Linked DNA regions of Homo sapiens: region 2 is linked to region 1. Evidence: promoter capture Hi-C in human tissues and cell types (Jung and others, 2019). All regions are on one chromosome and are shown on one strand. Each heading gives the region's core, a stretch centred on a gene start or on the middle of the fragment in contact. The rest is flanking DNA. Distances are from core to core; before and after follow the strand shown.

Region 1 (4,261 bases), core at 676-3,175:
TCCCTACTGCTACACCAATCCACTCTTCACATTGTGAGCGTGCACAGGCTGGGGGTGCTAGAGACTCATGGAAAACCAGAGGGCTTTATGAATTTGTAGTACCACCACAATATGCCATTGTGGATACTACTAATTTGTATCTGGTGCAATAATTGGAACCGAGATGCACATTTAATAAGTGGTTTCTATAGCTTTAATATACCTGCGAAATGTGAAAAATAACCATTCTTAATTTTGGAACTGAAATTGTATTTCAGAACATGGCCAAGACATACTAAAAGCATAGACATGAGCCCACTACCTAAAACTCTTTTCTTTATTTTCAGAAAGGAAAGACAGTTAGTAGGAAATAAGGGAAATACTTAAATACCACTTTTGGAAACAAACAGGGATTTAACTGCTTTATCTGTCTTTGAGTTTTTAATGCAGGATATAAAGGACCTTAAAGCGTTCATATTGTCTCCTTAAAACCCTCTACTTCAATTTCACCCTTACAAGCTACTACTCTCCTAGGGAAGAGGAAAAAAAAATTTCCACTGACCCAGCTCGTGATTTACATACAGAGAGCAAATAAATGAATGGAGTGGGGGATGGGGCAGTGAGAAGCAATCTGTTTCTTTTTCAACCGCAGAAAATAAGATTACTTACCAAGAACATTTTTATCCAGGGCAAATGTTTATTCCCTCTATCATTCAGCGCCTCAGTCTCTGCAAGAAATCAATTTCCACTCTACCTTTCCCTCCTATTTCTAAAAAAGAGAGTGAGGCGGATAATTCTTAAGCTTCGGGGTCCGGAGGAAGATAGAGCTAGAGCGGAGGGCAAAAGACTCCCACAGCGCTCTTTATACAGATCCCAGCTCTGAGAGCGAACCCATGGGGAGGGGGCGGGGGATCATCTCTAAGGAGAGTACTCCGAGTAGGGAGGGGGATTCATTCTGCAGCCAAAATATAAATCATCTACAAACAGATTACTAGCCTCTCAGTCACACAGGCAGTTCCCTTGGGAAACCGGTTTCAAAGAGGAAGAAGTTCCTGGAGAGAGAGAGAGAGAGAGAGAGAGGGAGGGAGAGAGAGAGAGAGAGAGAGACTGGGGTTTGGACTTGCAGAGGGAATGGGGCCAAGGAGAGGAATAGGGAGAAGGAATAAAGCTAATCTTACCGATCGATCAGGCGATCGTTTGTTCAGTATTGGGACACGAAAATGGCAAGATAATGCATTCGGCAGCAAAGCCATTTCTGGCACACTCTCTCTCAGTTACTGCAGGAATCAGAGGGGAAGCGGGCGCCTCGAAACCTACCACTTGCTCCCCAGGGACCGTCCTCAGAACCTCCAAAGCTCTAGCTTCTAATGCAAGGCGTTCGGAGCTGAGGGTTCAGGTGGAAGTCAATTGTCTTGAGTCACAGGCAGCAGGAACGCCAAAGAAGTGGGACCTGGGAGGGCTGCTGCCGCCGCTGCTGCATCTAACCACGGTTCCCCGTCCCCTTGCCTAAGCCTCACCGGCACAGCGCCCCCGAAAGCGCCTAGCGACTCGGCCTCCTCCGCATCTTCAGCCCTTCGATCACCGCCCGCACCCCCCACCCCCCACCGCCTCGTGCAAATCGCTGATGATTTGGTCATCGTAATGTGACCGGTCGTAGTGGTTTATTTGGGGAGTGGGGGAATTGGTTGTGTTGGGCTTCCTTACTACGCCTCCCTCAGTTGCTGCAAGTGAAAATGTTCAAGGGAAATACTAGTGAAATGCACTGATGGAATACTATTAATCCTAATGATAATGGTCCCAACGCAGGTAACTCTTAAAGAACTGAGAGTGGGAAGATCAGAGCAGGATTTCCGAAGTGGTGCCCTCTTGAATTCTCATTGGATCCTCCCCAGCAGCCTAAATCATTCTTGCTGCTATATCTATCAGGATGACTACAGCCTTGCTCACTAGTTCTCTCTTTATCTCGTTGTCTTCAACACATCCTTTTACTTCTCTTTGCAGATTTATCTGTATTCCACCTCCTGTTCTCTGGGGTTACACAGCTTCTGCCTTTCCCCACTGTATGGGGATGTGCAGCCTGTAAATTTTCACTTTGCTTAAGGATCACCACGAATCACCCCCCACCATTCCCCACCCCCCCATATAAAGCATTTTCACATTCTGCTTTCTTGCCTTGGGGGTTCGTGGCTCTCTGTGTAACTGGTTTTTACTTGGTTACATGCCACCAGGAACTGCTGATTATTTTAAAGTCCTACTACCCTGCAGCTCACTACTTTACCTTGATTTGGAAGATCATGGAATATCTATTTGAATCCTGGATGTATTTTTCTCACAGTCTTCTTGCTTCCTGAAATTTCCTCTGGTAAGTTATTCTCTTTATCTGTTACTAGAAACTTAACTATTGCTATTTTTAATAAGCTCTGTTTTGTTGAAGTATTTCATTTTTCACATTTTTGTTACTTTCAGAACTGAAAGATCCATATGGCCATATTTATTAATTAGTATGTTAGTGGCAACTGCACTGCTAAGACATAACCCATGTAATGTATTACCCCAATATCCCATGTATTACCCCAATATCTTTTACCTTCTTTATTTTTAAAATATTTGTCCTCATTTATATTATGGGTTACACGGACATTAATCGCCCCCACCCCCATTAACCCTTCTTGGCACACATTCCTGTGCCATTTGAAATGTCACATTTTATAGGTTTATCTAAGAGAGAGCTTAAAAGAGACCTTCTGACAATTGCAAGGTCTGGAAAGTTCGCTAGTCGGATATTCAGAAGGTTGTTCAGGTCAGCATTTGTTCATGATAAGCAATTACATGACTGAAGGAAGACTTTGTTGCAAAGTGTATTTTTATGAATTTAGCAAGACCTTAAGCACTAAAATGCCACTGAATGGTAGGAAGAGGACTGTGAGTTTTGAGGGCACCATTTTTTTTTCTTAAAATATTTCAAATCACACATAAGCACGTTATTTTAGGCATTGTATTTTAATTCAGGCATAGTATTTGTCAGTACATTTCTGATTTTGTGAATTAGCTGGTGAACAGTTAATTGGACACAGAGTACTCATTTCAGAGAGGAGCAATCAGAAGAAACCCCTGATTATCTTGGTTCTGATAAATTGAAATTCAAGAATAGACTTTACATGAAAAATTTAATTGCCTCACTCTTCATACTTGTCTGCCCCCAACCCTTGTGTTTAATAGGCATGTTAATATGGTCAGTGCCTTTTGCTTTTATGAACATTTCTATGGACTTAACTGACAAGATTATCACCTCCTCTTCCGTATAGTTGTGTTGAGAAACATTTTAATCTTTACTTTTACTTCACAATTGACACATAATGAGGAAAGCACGATATTCATTAAATGCCAAACCTGCATGTATCGGTAATTTTTAACACCCACTGAGGGTTTTCTCTGAACATCCGCCCCCCGCCCTCAAATTAAGGACAAGTTCCTGGTCTCTACAACATTTCCTTTTCTTGGGATACATGGAGGTAAGAACCTATTGTTCACGCTTTTCTTTTCCTTTTTTTTTTTTTTAATTTCTGGGAAATAACTATTCTTGTCGTCATTGATGGCTGACGCGACAACCCAAGCAATGTTTTTTTAAATTCAAAAGCCCTTTTAGCTCCCAGACATAAAAGTACTCCAGCTGCAGCGTCGCCCCATCCCCCCGTCTCGGGATTCAAGGGCTTTTCCCCCTTGACTCCCACCGAGAGGGAACGGGGGTTGAGACTGTGGTCCGCACCACTTGGCGCCCCTCACCCGTCACTAGGTCACTAGTTTCTACCTGGTCTCTTTCCCAGTCCGGTCGTCCTGCCTGACAAGCCAGTGCCATCAGAGTCCGTGACTTCATTTGAAGAAAGGAGGGCTTCATATAATTCAATTCAAACATTCTCTTTGGAGGACTGCTGTTGTTGCGCAAGGGTGGAGGGAGGAAAAAAAAAAGAAAAAGAAAAAAAAAACTTTCAGTACAGTCAGATCCAGTAAGGAACAGACAGTCAGTATTTAGGTAAGTGCGTTTTGCTGTATTATACCTGAAGCTCAAGCGTGTGAAAGGGAAATTTACATCTGAGGGGCTCCCGCTGCCAAGAACGTTTTAACTGGAGGGTTATCAACAGGCGACTCTGCGTGGAGATTTCTCCGCAGCTCACGGCAACGCCTATGCCACCTGAGCTCAGGGAACGGAGGAGAGCAAGGTGCCTGGTTGACCAGCTGGCCCCAGGCTTGGTGTTGATGTGGGAATAACCCATGCGTGTAGGAA
Region 2 (3,888 bases), core at 218-2,717, 82 kb before region 1:
GACATGTAAAATGAGAGAAGCCAGTCAGCAAAAGAATTAGGGAAAGAGAAAAAATTAAAGCGAACAAAAGGTGAAAGGACTTTAAGAGATATGTTATTTTGAGAGTTAAAAAAGAAGTTATTGGAGGCATGAATTATAACAGAAGGTACTAGAGAGTTGGTTAAGGGTCCACTCTTGCAGAGCTTTGCAAACAATGTTACAGAACTTGATTTTATGCTAAATTCAGTGGAAAACTCAAAATCAGTGACGTAGAGATTATTTGATTTACATATTTTTAAAATCATTCTGTTTCTGTGTGCAGTGTGAATGGTAGGAGGGCCAGAATAGAGGGAAGAAGGGTAGCTATAGTCCTGGGCATTTAGAAACTTCCAAGTAGCTTTTTTATTATTTAACTCTGTAAATGATGGTGCACTGAACAGCCATGTACATATGTATTTGTGCAAATAATGTGATGTTTCTTCAGGATAGATTTATATAAGTCTTAGGTCACAGGGCCTCTGTTTTTTGAAGTTAAAATATCGATCACTTCTCCTTTTGTTATTATTAATATTTGCATAAAAATCCTTTCTATTTTTGTATTGTATTTTTGCACATTTATTTGAATGTTTGGTTTCAGAAAAATTGAAACAAAACTAAGTATATCTTCAATAGAATAAAGTTTTCTATAGGCAGAACAGTAAACAAAATCATTTTCAGAGAATAAATTGTAAATTTAAAACATATTATAATCACTTGACCTTCTTTTTGATACATTTAAATACAATATCTGGCTTAGCTCATCTGTTATGTCATAGGCAAATAAATCTAAAGATATGAATTAAATATTGCCATGAACATATTCATAAGGAGGACATTCAGGCAATAGGGTCTCTTTGAAGTAAGTAATCAGATGATTCTTTTGATATATATGGAGTACAATCAAAAAAAGAAGAGTTGTCTTTAATCTTTCCTGCTGTATAAATAGCAATATAAAATTAGCACACTGGAAACTTAGACATCACTAACATAACCCTCAACTATAAACACTTGACAGAGTGTTAGAATTTTATTCTAATTACTTTTTCAATGAGCAACATTATTAGAAAAGTATTTCCATTAATATTTCATCTTGAAGATCAAAACAGAAATTGTATTCACATAACACTTTCCCATAAGTGTTTTTTATTTACATGACATCCATTATATTCTCTCCAAATAAGCAGATTTACTGCCATCAGCATGCTAGTGCTGCAAATAAATTTCAATAGAGTATATAGGAACAGGAAATAAGATCCCTGGAACTTGGCCATAGTTTGATTTGGTCTCTTGTTAGAAGTAACATTAATTTGAAAGAATAGATTGATTGCTGACTTGGGAGAAATATTGTACAGAGAAAAGTATGTGGGCAGTAATGTAGCATCAAATTTTGCTGAGTGTTCACTAAAACTAAAACTGTGTATACAAACATGTAGAATTTATTGCTTAATAATAGCAATTTTGCTCCATTCTTATACTGCTTTCAAATTATCTAAAGTCATTTGTATATGTTGTAAATGAAAAGCTTTTGAATTATTCTCTGTGTTTTACCGAGTAAATTAAACATACATGTAAGTTAAATTCCACAAGTTATCTCACTATTTTATAGGTAGTATATACAGTATTTTATAGGTAGTATGTAGTAGCCACTATACTGTATATATTTCAGAAAATAAAATATTCTCAGAAAAGAATCTGACACCTTAGGAGGCTTTGTATAAATTTAATTAATTGATTTATTTTTAATTTTAGAGAGGGTCTCTCTGTCACCCAGGCTGGAGTGCAGTGGTGCGATCTCAGCTCACTGCAACCTCCGCCTCCCAGGTTCAAGCGATTCAGTTGCTTGCCTCAGCCACCGGAGTAGTTGAAATTACAGGTGTGTGCCACACCACGCCCAGCTAATTCTTTTTTATTTTTAGTAGAGACAGGGTTCCACCATGTTGGCCAGGCTGATCTCAAATTCCTGTGATCTGCCCCCTTGGCCTCTCAAAGTGCTGGGATTAAAGGCATGAGCCAATGTGCCTGGCCTATTCTAATTTTTTAAATTGGAACGTTTGAAAGTTTCATTTAATAACAAACAACTAATTACTACAAATATACTCTTTAATCTACTACTTTGATTAAAATATATTATTGAAGGCAAAACAATGGTCTACCAAATGTGTTCATGTCCTGATATCTGAAACTTGTGAAATAGTTAAATTCTATGGCAAGAGGAATTAAGGTAACAGATGGAATTACATTGCTAATTAGGTGACTTTAAAACAGGGAGATTACCCTGGATTATCTGGTCATTCCAATCTAACCACAGGGGTCCTTACATGTGGAAGATGGAGCAGAAGCATGATGTCAGAGTGATGCCTATGTTATCAGAAAGACTCCACCAGCCTTTGGAAAGACTCTACTTGCCATTGTTGGTTTTGGAGAAGGAGGATGGCTAGGAACTAAAGAATGCTACCAACTGGAAAAGGCAAGAGAGTGGATTCCAGAAAATAATGCAACCCTGCCAACACCTTGATTTTAGTCCAGTGAGGCCCATTTATGATTTCTGACCCCTCCAGAAACATAAAATTTAAAAAATTCCATTATTTTAAGCCTCAAGTGGGGGTTATTTTTTACAGCAGCAATAAGAAACTCATACATACATGGAAATACGTGGTGAATAATTTTAAGGGGATGACTTTGATATTTCTTTGATATTGGTAAGATATACAAACAAAATTAATAAAGCAGTACCTCATTAGATATATCCTAAAAGGGAAGTACACATTCTGTGGGTGAGAAGCAATGAATAGTCTTAATATGTCATGAATCCAACCATAAATTAACACCAATTTTTATACAGCCTGTCTTAGTCCATTTTTGTCATAAAGGAATACTTAAGGTTGGATAACTTATGAAGAAAATAATTTTATTTGGTTTATGGTTCACCAGACTGTTCAGGAAGCATGGCATGGGCATCTGCTTAGCTTCTGGTGAGGGGCTCAAGCTGCTTTCACTCATGGCAAATACCTAAGGGGGCCAGCATGCAGAGATCACATGGCTAGTGAGGAAGTAAGAGAGAGAGGGAAGGAGGTAGGTGCCAGGCCATTTTTAACACCTAGCTGTCTCCTGAGAACTGTAATAATAGAGGGAGAACTCACTCATTGCCACAAGGACAGCACCAAGCCATTCATGAGGAGTCTGTCTCCATGACCTAAACACCTCTCAATAGGCTCTAAGTCCAAAAGTGGGGATCAAATTTCAACTTGCGATTTGCAGGACAAATATCCAAACTACAGCACAGACATACTAAAAATGGTAAGTAATGTTAATACCATAGCATCTTACTAATAAATTCTTCTCCAAATCCAGAGAACTAACTTCTTAGATCACATGTGTATTAATTTAAAAATCATAATTTTGGAACAAAAGCATGTTAGCCCTTTAAAAATTAAGACTCACAAAACCTACATTTATTCAACATATTTTATAGGGAAAATGCAGTCAGTTTTTAGTATGTTTGGTAAGTAGGTTTTCCCATAAATTGATACTTTTCCTTTTCTGAGAAGATTCTTTTTGTTTCAAACTTAATCCCGTTTTTGAGTTGCATATCTGACCTTTTGTATCATACATAGGAAGTGATCTTAAAGAAGTCTATATATTTATATTATAATGAGATAAGAGTGAAAATGTATCTTTTATTATTTTAATTTAGCAGTTTAGATTTTGGAAAAATTTTACAAAAAAAAGTTTTAGCACAAAATCTTTTTATTCACAGAAGTAGACTCGATTTATCACTAACTCAATTATGTCTGCATTAATAAAAAGTTGGACTCTTTTATTGGACAGTTTTTTTCAAACATATGCAAGAAATATAAACAGATTGGACTG

Evidence for each region. The method cuts DNA at HindIII sites, captures the fragments that hold promoters and counts their contacts. A contact is called where the count stands out against the background at its distance.
Region 2: a fragment that was not itself captured here is called in contact with the fragment with the promoter of BRINP3 in region 1 in 2 of the 25 tissues and cell types used here (H1 embryonic stem cells and heart left ventricle).

The regions. Positions count from the first base shown.
Region 1 is chr1:190,475,528-190,479,788 of GRCh38, reverse strand. It overlaps BRINP3 (BMP/retinoic acid inducible neural specific 3), which reads left to right and starts at 1,925. Exons shown (of 8, transcript NM_199051.3): 1 at 1,925-2,341. It overlaps BRINP3-DT (BRINP3 divergent transcript), which reads right to left and starts at 1,529. Exons shown (of 3, transcript NR_110716.1): 1 at 1,297-1,529; 2 at 649-707. The HindIII fragment of the contact is 15,526 bases long and covers 1-4,261 here.
Region 2 is chr1:190,557,874-190,561,761 of GRCh38, reverse strand. No RefSeq gene overlaps it. Among named protein-coding and RNA genes, the nearest start is that of LINC01720, 65 kb to the left of the region's middle. The HindIII fragment of the contact is 9,959 bases long and covers 1-3,888 here.